Regions from separate parts of the Homo sapiens genome. Here region 2 is linked to region 1. The links are contacts of gene promoters, found by promoter capture Hi-C in human tissues and cell types (Jung and others, 2019). All regions are on one chromosome and are shown on one strand. Each heading gives the region's core, a stretch centred on a gene start or on the middle of the fragment in contact. The rest is flanking DNA. Distances are from core to core; before and after follow the strand shown.

Region 1 (6,644 bases), core at 2,566-5,065:
TTCTCTAATTCTGAATACAGTTTAGAAAAAAGGGCAGCTAAATTAAACATTATGTTTCACTTTTTAAAATGCAAAATAACTGAAATAATCAAGAATGTGTACACAGACATAGCTAGAAAGATTTAATGCAGAGCTGCTTAAAATAGTGAACACTGGCAACAAACTAAGTGTTCAGCGATAGGGGACTGGTTGAGACACAGCCACAAAACAGAAAACTAAAAATGATGCTGTGTAAGAGTATGTTAGTGACATACAGTTGTCCATGTTTGGATGAGGAGAGAAAACGTAAGTTGGAACATAGAGAATGAACCCATTTTTGTAGAGATAAATTTCAGCTGCTGCAACTTCAGGAAAGTTACTTAATTTCCCTAAAACAGTTGTATCCTCAGTAAAAGAAGGTAATAAGAGTACCTACCTCACCGGGTTGGAGTGGGGATTACAAGAGATTTGATGTATAAAGCAACTGTCACGTTGCCTGGCCCATAGTAAGATCAATACTCGTTAGCTGTTTGTGTTATCTGTGCATAGGGGCAAAATATAAAGAGGGGGCAGATAGAAATGTTAAATGATTTTCTGGGTGGTGAGATTATGGCTGATTTGTTTTGCCTATACTTATAAATTTCCATAAGTAACACATTACTTATAATATGGGGAAAACTAATAAGTTGGAATACTCATACAAGGATAATCCTCTTAAAAATCTACCATAGTGTTTTGTTCACAGCAAATAAATCTTTTTTTGTTTTGTTTTGTTTTGTTTTGAGACAGAGTCTAGCTCTGTCACCCAGGCTGGAGTGCAGTGACGCAATCTCAGCTCACTGCAACCTCCACCTCCCAGGTTCAAGCGATTCTCCTGCGTCAGCCTCCCGAGTATCTGGGACTACAGGCGAGCACCAACATGCCCGGCTAATTTTTCTATTTTTAGTAGAGATGGAGTTTTACCATATTGGCCAGGCTGCTCTTGAACTTCTGACGTCAAGTGATCTGCCTGCCTCGGCCTCCCAAAGTGCTGGAATTACAGGTGTGAGCCACTGCACCCAGCCACACAGCAAATATATCTCAGTTGAGCTGAGCTGACCCTTCAGATTTCATTTAAACAAGCTTGCTTTGAATATTTAAAATTATTTAAACTGAAGAGCTATCACTTGTCCGTAATATTTTACTGTGTAAAGCAAGGCATACTTTTATTATTCGGCCTCATAAAGAATTTACGAGCCCCTATTCAAGACCATTCAGAATGCCACCAGATCTCTTATTATCAGTGGGAGGCAGCCTATGACGGCCTAATCACTTCTTGTCTCTTCCCAAGTCCCCAGCACTCTCCTTTTTTGACTCCTTTTTTCCCCTCTTGATAATCACAGCCTGAGGTCTCTACTGGACTATAAGCTTTGGGGTAGCAACTATCTCCTTCGTTTGCATTGCTGGCCCCTAGCACAGTGGCTGTTATGTAGTTGTTGCATACTAAACGTTAAGCAAATAAATATCTGATACTAGTAGTTCAAGACAAAGCCTTCAATTTCTCCATTGAGACAACACGCTAAAGGTGGGTAAGTCATTGTTTAGTCTAAAACTGTCCAAAACTCTCAGTAATTATTCCTTTAAAAAAGAAACATCTCACCTCAAAGCATCACTTTTAAAAAAAGTTCTCACTGATACTCCATTGTCTATTTTAATAGTTCTAAGATTATTTCTATTTTTCCCCTATATTTTGTTTAAAGTCCCACAAAAATCCCAAAGAGTTTAAGTAAACTTGCTCAAAGGAACACAGCTCAGAGAGCCTCAGGTCTCCTGGATTCCCATGTCCATGATCTCACTACACGGTACTGTCGTAGGACAGCTCCCAGATCTTTCACCCTGTAAGTTGTTATAGTTATGGTAAGAGCAAATGTCTTCAATAACGTGCACAAGTGCTAAAGTTTCTTCCAAACATTTCCTAGGGCTTTTATGAGATTCTGCGAGGGGAGAAACTCAGAACAAGGTGCAGCCACCTCAAGGTGTCCAAGTGTTTCCCTCTAGGTTCACAAGTCAACTAGCTTTACTTAAAAATGAAACCAAAGGAACCAAATTAAACATTAACTTGTTAAAAAAAAAAACACTTCAACCAGACTATTGTGAAGTAAGAACATTAGAAGACCAAGGAAAGGGCCATAAAGAGGAAATTTTGCACTGCTTGCACTGCTTCTTTAGGAAAAAAAAAAGGTAAAGGTAAAGTTAGCTTCCTCACGTCCTTTCTTCCTGTAAATTCCAGGTTGTCACTTTCAGCCATTGCTCTGACATTGTTTAAACAGTAAATGGCAGTTCCCATGACACAGGATGGAAACCATAACCTTCTCAGGTATCCGTACTAAAAATGTTTAACTTGCTGAAAACATCACTTCCCAATCTAAGGAACTTGCCAAAGGATTTCACATGCTAACCCTCGGCCCACCAGGCTTATAAGGAGGACATTCTGTGGAAATTAATTGGTTATTACCTAAGCCAGCTGCAACACACTATTATTTATATATAAACAGCTATAATTTGTTGGGGTCTGCTTTGTACCAGACATTATGAGAAGTCTTTTGCGCTTTAATCCTCATTATTATCCTCATTATTAATCCTTATTTAATCCACCTTATTATCTGAAGTAGCTATAATCCCATTTTACTGGTTCAGAATGTTTAATGTGCCTGAGCACCCACCGTTAATAGAGGAGACTGGTAATGAAACCAAGGATTTGAAAAGTTAGGTACAGATTGAAAACCCACGCCGAATCCAGTGACACTAAACAGTTGAATCTCTTCAAAATATAACACACATGTCAAAATGATTTTAAGGTCATTTCAGAGCAGGCAAGACTTGAAATAGAGGACCGGCAACATTAATAAATAAAAAAGACTACAGGACATAACATTTTGAGTTGGTTTCAAGCCGTGGATAATTAATGATTATCCATACCTCTGGATGGATGTTGACAGGGGTTCCCCGCCCCTTATTTTCGCTGAGAAACCAAGTCTTCCCTTCCGTAAAGGGAGCAGCTCTGGAATGCCACACGTTGAAGGGTTTCGGTGTGGGCTGCCCAGAGCTGGGCTGTTACTGTTCACACATCATCAGTAAGTGCCTCTCAAAAAAAAAAAAAAAAAAAAAGAGAAAGAAAAGAAAAACCACACACACAAACACACACACACAGTCCCTCCTCCACCAACTGAACTTCAGCCCTGACCTCCGGAGTGGTTCTGGACAATCTGGGGTTTAACCTGTGCCCTTCCAACGCCAGGACCGGGGTACCCGAAATGGGTTGCAAATGAATGAGATGACTGCTCAGAGGAAGGAGACTAAGGCACACATCTCTCCTCCAGACCACAAAATCGAGGAAGCATGCCCTGGGCGGGGAGGGTGGGGGCCGGATTAGAGCCACGTCCCCGCTTCGCAATCCACCTTTCCCCTCCCGCGCTTCGGAGGACTCTCCGCTCCCCAGCCCATCCTCCTCCTGGCCCCTCCGCGCGCTCCTTACCCGCTGGTGGCCAGGGCTCCAGACACTCCCAGCTGAAGGCACTTGCTCCCGGGAAGGGGATTTGCCAGGGGATGGAGCCCGCTGCCGCAGCCGCCGCGACCAGCCCCGGGCGTCACCACCCTCGGGCCGAAGCCGCTAGAAAGTTTGCTCGGGGTCTCGCCCTCCCACGCCGCGGCCTGACTAGGGGAAGCAGCTCTCCGGGTCCCTCCCGCGGCCGCCGCCCCCGAGGCCGCACTCGGCGGCGCTGCAGCACCGGCCAGGCTCCGTGCGCGCCGAGGGCTGGGTCTCCCCGCCCCACTCGGCCCACGGCGCGGCGCTCAGTGTTGACCGCGGCCCCGCGCCCGCTCTCCCCGCCCGCCGCGCGCGGCCCGCTCCCTGCGCCCTGCGCCCAGCGCGCTCTTGACATCATTCATTCTCTCACACCCTCGCCCGCCCACTCCATTTCCAAACAGTGACTCACCCGTCGGCCCGGTGGCAGCAGTGCCCGTTCCTGCTGCCGTGGCTCTCCTGGCGCAGAGTGGAGCTCGAAAAACCTGCGCGACTTCTTAAGAAGAAAATCCCAGCCGACTCTCCCCTCGCGGCTGTTTAAGGTGCAGAGAAGGAGGGGCTTGGCAGGCAGGGCAGTTTGGCTCCCGGCCGAAAGGCTGAGGGCCTGGAGCTGACCTCCCTGAGCGGCAACAGAGATCAATCTGGGAAAGTTCTTTGGGTGCCACTCCCAGCAACTTTCAGGGGTGGGGCTGGAACGGGATCCCCCACCCCCGCACCCGGCCTGTTTCGGAAACTGCTTCCTGACGGCGTGTGAGTGGGCTTGGGAGCGCCAGCGTTGATTCAGAGGGTTTATCGGTGTTGACCGGGCCTAGGTCAAAGAGGTGGGTTTCCAAACCTCACAGCGTTGCCTGGCAAGGTTAGTCATCAGTCCGCATGGTATGAGCTGGAAGGTTGCTCCAAGCTAATGAGGTGGCAGCACTGTCCCTTTCGTGCCTAACCATCGTGTCATTTGTCCTGTTAATTGATTTACTTCTCACTTAAGGAATCGTAACCAAAATAAACAGTGTAAGTAGTTATTTGCTTAACTGAATACTGCGCTTTTCCGCAGCTTTTGGGGCCCAAGGCAGCCGTGTGGTTTCTTCGAAGGCCTCAGTAGTTTTTTAAAAGGGGGATTGCTGTCTTTAAAATGGTAATGGTTCTACATTGTCCTGGAGTTGCTATTCATACACCTGCTGGGCAGTTTTCAAAGTAAACGATGGCAGCCTCAAGGACTCTAACTAGGAATGACCAATCCGAGGGAATGTGGCTAAATCTTTCTTGACATAAGTTTTACATTAATGTCTCCTTCTGGACAAGATAATTATGTTTAGGATTTGCGCTGGTTTATGGGTGCTTCCATATAATCAACAAAAATAATGACGGGAATCTTTGGGTTTCTAGTGCAGATATCATGTGGGTCAACAGTCATTTGTGGCTATTAAAGATGATGGTAACAGAAAAGAATATACAAGGCAGGCAATCCCCAAACTCGCAACTTCAAGATGTCGTCACAGTACAGGCAACCAAAGAAAATGGACAAATGGGATCATATTAAGCTAAAAAGCTTCTGCACAGCAAAGGAAACAAACTGAAGAGACAACCCACAGAATGGGAACTATCCATCTGACAAGGGATTAATAACCAGAATATATGAGGAGCTCCAACAACTCTATAGGAAAAAAAAATCTAATAGTCCGAGTAATAAATGGGCAAAAGATTTGAATAGACATTTCTCAAAAGAAGACATACAAATAGCAAACAGGTATATGAAAAGGTGCTCAGGCAATAAATACTGGCGAGGTTGTGGAAAAAAAAAGGAACCCTTGTGTTTGTGGGAATGTAAAAAGTATAACCACTATGGAGAACAGTATGGAAGTTCCTCATAAAACTAAAAATAGAGATACCGTATGACCTAGCAATCTCACTGCTAGGTATATATGCCCAAAAAAGGAAATCAGTGTATCAAAGAGATACCTGCACTCCTATGTTTATTGCAGCACTACTCACAATAGCCAAGGTTTGGAAGCAACCTAAGTGTCCATCAACAGATGAATGGATAAATCGTTACATATACCCATGGAGTACTATTCAGCCATAACAAAGAATGAGATCCTGGCATTTGCAACAACATAGATGGAACTAGAGGTCATTATGTTAAGTGAAATAAGCCAGGCACAGAAAGACAAATTTCACATGTTCTCACTTATTCATGGGAGCTAACATTTAAAACAATTGAACTCATGGAGACAGTAGAATGATGGTTACCAGAGGCTGGGAAGGGTAGGGGGGATGGGTAATGGGTAAAAAATATATATATAGTTAGATAGAATGAATAAGGTATAGTATTTGATAGCAAAACAGGGCAACTACAGGCAACAGTAATTGTGCATTTTAAAATAACTAAGAATATAATTGGTTTGTAACATAAAGAAAGGATAAATGTTTGAGATGGTAGATATCCCATTTACTCTGATGTGATTATTATGCATTATGTGCCTATATCAAAATATTGTGTGTACCCCATAAATATACCTACTATGTACCTACAAAAATTAAATTTAAAAAAATTTTTTTGAGATGGAGTCTTGCTCTGTCGCCTGGGCTGGAGTGCAGTGGCTTAATCTCAGCTCACTGCAACCTCCACCTCCTGGGTTCAAGCAATTCTCCTGCCTCAGCCTCCCGAGTAGCTGGGATTACAGGTGTGTGCCACCAACCCTGGCTAATTTTTGTATTTTTAGCAGAGACAGGGTCTCAACATGTTAGTCAGGCTGTTCTCGAACTCTTGACCTTGCGATCCACCCTTCTCGGCCTCGCAAAGTGCTGGGATTTACAGACATGAGCCACTGTGCCCGGTCCCCCCAAATTTTTAAAATATAAAACCAAAAAAAGATGTTGTCACAATACAGAAGTTTCCCCCAAATGAAAATGCTCCTAAAATTAACCAAGGGCTCAACATCATTGTTGTGGAAAATGGACTCTTTTAGAGCTACTTTTAAAGGTTAGAACCCAGAGGAGACCACCAATCGAAAGTTATTGTCCTGGGGTTTATTTTTCCCCTTCAATAAGGAGCTCATTTTCAAATTTACAAAGCCCAGGCATTTTGCCCAGAAGGCAATAGCAAATG
Region 2 (6,644 bases), core at 2,032-4,531, 47 kb before region 1:
TGACTAAATAAGCCACTGCTTTCAAGTGGTATGAAACTGTAAAAAGGTAAACCTTCTCTAAAGCTATTAAGGTTGTTGTAATAGGCTGTAGGTTCTCCTAGAACTTAAACTGTTATGTTGCTTTTAAATAAATAATTGTCTCTCAAAAGCACTTATTTGACCAGTGCTTCCAATCATAGGCTTCAGAGATTGGCTTCTGCAAATAACCTAATAATGATGATTTATGTTCTTCAAATTTGGCTCTAGGAAGAGGGACGCAGATATCTCAACCCAACCCTTCACTGAAGACATGAGGTAGAGACACGAAGAGAATAACCTAAGACATGAAATTTACCTAAAAGATTAAAATCATGCATCTAACAATGCCATTTAAACAATTTTAAGGAATGCAAGTGACAATGATATTGATACTTAAAATATACAATATTTATCTATTGAATTTTCATTTATTCTAATAAATCAAGGAAATGAAGAAACTGCCATAAAATGTAAATTTCCAAAATGTTCACTAGAAAGTTTGTATACTTAAAAAAATCACTTGGAAATAAATTTGGTTTATTCATCATAGTACTTAAGTACTGTTTTAGATAACATTAGTGGTTTAGTATATTCAGAATGGCTACCAACAGACATAGTCTTCTAGGGAAAAATAAGGTTCTTTAGAACTAAATCCCTATGTTGCTAGCTCTAGAGCAAGTAAACTAATCCAGCAACCTTCAGGGAATGGCGCATTTCTCTCTTAAAAAAGGCAGAACAGCTCACTCAAGACTTTTATTTCCATTTGTGACCAACTGTGCTGGTTCACAAAGTTGCAAAGCAAAGTTTCTAATAAACAAATGTGTCTTTTGTTGCCTACTCTACTAAAGTAATGCCCCCTGTACAGAGCTTGAACATTCCATCACAAAGCTTTGGTGGCTGCTGGCACAATAATGATTGTGGAGTGTCTATTTGTACACCATTAATTATGCTGTGATCCCTAGTGAACTGCCTGTTTTTCTTTCGCAGAAACCTAGAACACAGTATACAGCTCTTATTTTGTATTTCTTTTAGATATATTATAAAACAAGAAATTTAGTTCCAATGTATCCAAGCTGTCCCTTCGGAAGGTGATCAGAAGAGAGAAATGAGTTTGGAAAAGAAAAGGAATAGCTGAACAAGAGTAAGAGTTTCTGCAATAAAGCCTTAAAAGAGAATAAAAATGTGGAAAAGTGAAGGTAGACACTGCAGCTGCACTTAAATAGTTCTTAGGAGCCCAAAGTAAGACATGTTCTGTAAAAGTAAAACTTACAGGGGGATCAATCCTTGCCATTAAAATCCTGAGTATTTGGATGAAAATCCAAATTGTGGTGGGAACTGTGGGCAGGTGCTCTTACACAGCAACGTGATATTGAAATTCTACAGACTGAACTGAAATATTTCGACTGTGGCAACAGTAAATCGTATACAGAACCACAATTAAAACTAATTTACCATGTGAAAAAGTCAGATACTCTCTCAGGAACAGTTCATTATTGTATGCAAATAAACACAGCATAAGTATATAATAAATTTTAGATTAATAATATATAAAATATAATTTTGATTATTTATATAATCAAGGCTTTCATCTGGGGCCTTGATGCTCGTCTTTCTTTGCACATTAAGTCAGTTTTTCATTTTCACATTCTTTTCATATCCCTCGTATGTATATGAAGGCAAGTGATTTCAGAAATCTAAACCCTGAGAAAACATGGGTAACAGAGAAGAACTTCTGCTGTGATATCTACTTCTGCAGGGAGTAGAGAAACAGAAGTAGAAGGTAAATCTGAGGTAAGCCAGAACTCATTTCTTTACTTCCTATTTGAAGCTGATTTCCCCTATACCTTCTCTGACAAATCGTAGGCAAAAGAGTTCTTGTGACTAAATATTTCCAAATTACCAATAATAAGAACTTCCTACAGAATGTCTCATTGACAAATTAGCACACAAGCTTCTACCCTATTCTAATTCATGGATAAGGAACACTGGAAAGTTATTTTGAAACAAATCCCATTAAAATGTAATTTAAGCTGTAATCAGAACGGAGCATAAAAACTGCAGTGAGCTGCTGGTAGAATCATAAATTGGTACCATTCTTTTGAGAATCTCTTTGTAAATATATGATGAGCTTTAGAAATGCTTTTATCTTTTGACATAGTAATTCTACTACTGTTCAGATTTTGAAATTGTGGATAAGTGATTCTGGATCTGTAAGACTGAAAAACCAGAACCACACTGTCCATCAAAATGGGACTAGTTACATTATAAATAAATGTATATTATATAAAGAAAATTGTGTTATATAAATTACATGGTTACTGGAAGGGTGATACTACATGGAACATTTACTTCACTTTTTATCTTTTTTTGCATTGAAAAAATAAATAAGCAGCATGTTTTAATTTTACTGCCTAAAAAGACAAAGGTTGTTCTTCTTATTGTTTTTTTTAAGAGAAGGGGTCTCACTCTGTCACCAAGGCTGGAGCGCAGTGGCACAATCATAGCTTACTGCAGCCTCTAACTCCTGGGCTCAAGCAATCCTCCTGCCTTAGCCTCCTGAGTAGCTGGTACTACAGGTGCACAATACTATGCTTGGCTAAGATAATTATTTATTCAATAATATTTAGTGAGTGCCAACTATGTACTAGTCACTGTTCTAGGGATATAACAATTTTTTAAAAAGTCGCTTCCCTCATGGAGCTTGAATTCTGCTAATGTAAGACAATAATAATGAAAGATTAAAACTGCTACGAAGACAAAGCAGGATGGGACGTTAAAGGGTGGCTATTCAATTAGGCTCACCAGGCTTATGAGATAACACTCAATTTAAACACTCAATTTGAGTGTTATGAGATAACACTCAATTTAAAATTTTAAATGAACAACCATTGTCAGAAAGAAAAATCAGTGCAACATCAAGTCAAAAGAACATCAGGAACATCTATGTTCCAACCTACTGAGATCCAATTACAGTAAATGCCCTCTAGAAACCTGTACTAATATAACTTTCTAAAACTAAAAAGATTCCTCTGAAGATGCTCCCATACTTACTCAATTATGGATTTTTGCCTTTGAGTTCTTTTCTATTTATAATAGATCAAAATAGCATGTGTATAGTATTCTAATTACACTGGTCATGATGGACTTTTATTTAATTGATCATCCCAGTGCTGTTTTTTTAAAATAAGTGTTTAACGCATATTAGGTTTTTTAAAAAAGGCTAAAGATGCAATATTATAAGCAGAGGAAGAATAAAAACAAAAGCATTATGTGGAGACATAAAAGTTAAAGCTATCAAATATCTAACAAGAATTCAGAATTTGACCTTCAATGCAGACGTTTTTAAATTTTATCTTGAGTAAACGGGATAGAAACTACAGGTATAGAAAACTTTTAAAACTGTACCCTGGGTTGAATGAAAAACAGTGACCAAACTCAAGATACCAGTACTTGCCGGTTAAATATGTAGCAATGGTTAATACTATTGCTGATAGCCTAGAAGGTAAAGTAAACAGACAGCCAACAAAGACAGAATTATTTATGTCCTCCTGTTCTGTGCAGAATTGGGTCCTAAGTGCTAAGGAAGGCGGCAGAAGAGAAAGCTGGCTCCCGTCCTCAAGGCATTTTTGATTCAGTAACTGCTTTTTCCCCTCTTCCCAAGCAGAAGTCACTTAAAAAGAACAATGAGAGATAAAAACTTTTACAAATTAGAAAACAGCCTGAAATAACATTTGAAGTTTAGTGAAACCATATGCCAGGTAGATGTAAAAGTGAAAAGTAAATTCAAATGACAGAAATAAAATGGGAAAAAGACTGGTTATATATAACTTAACAGGAATTTTTAAAACGTCTAGGGTATATAGATAAAAACTGAAAATAAAATCAGAAATAAGTAAAATAGTCTCTCTCTCTCTGTTAATAGCCTTTTAAAATGCCAAGCTCCGCCTATCAGCAGTGAATAGAAAATCAGCCAAGTACTTATCCTATTTGGTTTGGCACTGGTCTATCCATGGGAGTGAACTATGATCAAAACTGTTTTCTAAAGGGTGAAATGGGCTTAGAAAAACACAGGATGATTAAAATCGCTGTCTCTAAACCTGAACATAATGCCAAGAGGTAGTCAGGAAACATTACAAACTCAATGTTCAATTAGCATTAGGAAGCTAAAAGATGTAATTTTATAGTTAATCTTATTTCCATTAAATCTAATTGTCATTGATGACTCTATATAAATAAAAGTGCTTGCCTATAAATAATCACTTTAAATTGCTTTTTAAAATATAAACATGCTATCAAAAATTTATATTTAAAAATATCAAAGAATTATACTTCTTTGCTTACCATGAAACAAAGAAGCAGCCTAGAAAATGAGTTTTTGTTTTTATTGTTTCTAAAATTATCTCTTACAGCATAATCTGCATCAATAAGCATAGGACATTGGGAGCCCATTTCCAAAGCTTATACCAAACCAAACGAAACCAAAAATGACATTCTGGTTAACGTGCATCTATACTTTAGAGGAAATCTTAAAATTGGCAAAAGTGATTATGGGTTAATGGCGGGTATCTTTAAAGGAAAGGAATGAATTCCATCTAAGAGTTCATAGCTCTAAGAACAAAGAAAAAGCAGATGCTTACAACTCATGTACCAAAACACACTTGACATTTCCTTCCACTCACGCACCTCCTCTTCCATTTCTTATCACAGTAAACGGTACCACCATCCAATCAGCTACTCGGAGTAAATAAATGTTGGCTATTACCCGACTTCAAACTCCCTCCCCTGCTCACCTGAAAATCACTACAAATCCTGTCCATTTTAATCTCCCATCTATTTACCTCTGCTTTCTTTTCACAGACATCTCTTACTTACAGAGGACAGACATAAGTCCAAACAAATCAACAGCCACAACAATTTTTAAATGGATCCAATCCATCCACTAAAAAGCTACATACAAGATTATTTTGTAAATAAAAGGCTGATATAGTTATTAGGAATAGCAGGCATCACCAGTACTTTTACAACTAGAGTACAACGTAAAAGTATTGAGAAAATAGATAATAGAGAACAGCTCACCAAGAAGATATAAAATCATGGACATTCCTACACAAGGAAAAACTGACAGCTCCACAATCATGGTATTTAATGCAGCACTCCCTTCCTCTCTGGTTTTGTTCCTAATCTATTTCCTGCTTTACTGACCTCGTTAAAGACCTTAAATGGCTCCCTATGACCCAAAAGTCCATTGCTTATTTTGACTTAAGAAAAAATTTATAATAGAAAATCTCAAACATAATGAAAGTAGAAAATACTACAGTGAACCCCATTAGCCATAACAATTATCACAGGAAATCTTTTTTTTTTAATCTGTCCTCTACTCTGTATTTTTGGAAGCAGTCTCAGAGACCATGTAATTTCATCTGTAAGAAAGAGATTCTTTTTTCCCCAACATGACCCTAATGCCATTTTTACACCTAACAAAATTAACACAATTTACTTAAAAAAACAAATACCTAGTCAGGTCACCTTTATCCAATTACTTGTTCTCAAGACTGCTTTTTAGATGGTGGCATGTCCTTCTGACATCTATTGTTTCTTAGCATTGCTTACAAGGCTTTTCATAATCTGGCCCCTACCTTCACTTCTAGCCTCAATTTTTGAAACTAGTATTTTTTTCCATCCCCTAAATCCTGCACTTCCACCATATTTACTGAATTTCTGTTTATTTCACATGCAATATCCCCTCTTATCAAGCTTTATGTAAAAATTTTTTAGCAGCCTAAACTTCTTCCCAATCCCATCGACTTGCTTACACACTTGGCTCTCGTGCTTCAGGTCTCAGCAGATGTCATATCCTCCAACAAACCTTTCCTGCTACAACTCCCTGGTATGTGCTACTGGACCTAGAAATGAACTTTCAAATACAGCACTCACTACCCAGTTGGGTTACAAAACCTAGTGTCCCCTCTCTCCTAAATTCCCTTTTAAAAAGAAACACTCATTTCCATTTATAACTTTCTGCTTCTTAAGAAACCAACCTCCCCCTCTTGGGTGCTTTGTGCCCAACATGTTCATGGTATGGCTACTATTCTTTACTTCTACCTTTTGACCTATATTCATGCACAATTACACAAATCTCTTAAAAATGGTGTTCTGTAAGTACAAATCAGACTTGTTCAAAGGCTGTCAATAGTAAGAAAATGCACAAAATTACTTGAACATAATATTCAATAATCATAAAGCTTTCAAATGTGAAAAATATCCAGGGGTGCTAAAGGCAGGTACAAAAGGGATAGTGGAAAAAGAAAATCCTAACTCTAAAATAGGGCTCCAGAATCCTATGATTACAGGAGCAGAAAAAGGCTTCATTTTATTCTGAAAATGGCAGCAACTTTTTTTTTTTGAGACAAAGTCTCACTTTGTCGCCCAGGCTGGAGTGCAGTGGCACGATCTCGGCTCACTGCAACCTCCTCCTCCTGGGTTCAAGCAATTCTTGTGCCTCAGCCTCCCGAGTAGCTAGGATTACAGGCGCCCACCACAACGCCCAGCTGATTTTTGTATTTTTGGTAGAGACAAGGTTTCACCCATGTTGGCCAGGCTGATCTCAAACTCCTGACCTCAGGTGA

Evidence for each region. Contacts are between HindIII fragments. The study calls those that stand out against the background at their distance.
Region 2: a contact is called between a fragment that was not itself captured here and the fragment with the promoter of SGMS2 in region 1, in 1 of the 25 tissues and cell types used here (bladder).

Annotation. Positions count from the first base shown.
Region 1 is chr4:107,822,103-107,828,746 of GRCh38, reverse strand. It overlaps SGMS2 (sphingomyelin synthase 2), which reads right to left and starts at 3,815. Exons shown (of 7, transcript NM_001375905.1): 1 at 3,494-3,815. RefSeq lists an enhancer at 398-1,597. The HindIII fragment of the contact is 5,909 bases long and covers 102-6,010 here.
Region 2 is chr4:107,868,495-107,875,138 of GRCh38, reverse strand. All of the region lies in intron 2 of SGMS2 (sphingomyelin synthase 2), which reads right to left. It overlaps CYP2U1-AS1 (CYP2U1 and SGMS2 antisense RNA 1), which reads left to right. Exons shown (of 7, transcript NR_125929.1): 4 at 1,051-1,159; 5 at 1,695-1,809. Among named protein-coding and RNA genes, the nearest start is that of SGMS2, 47 kb to the right of the region's middle. The HindIII fragment of the contact is 3,686 bases long and covers 1,439-5,124 here.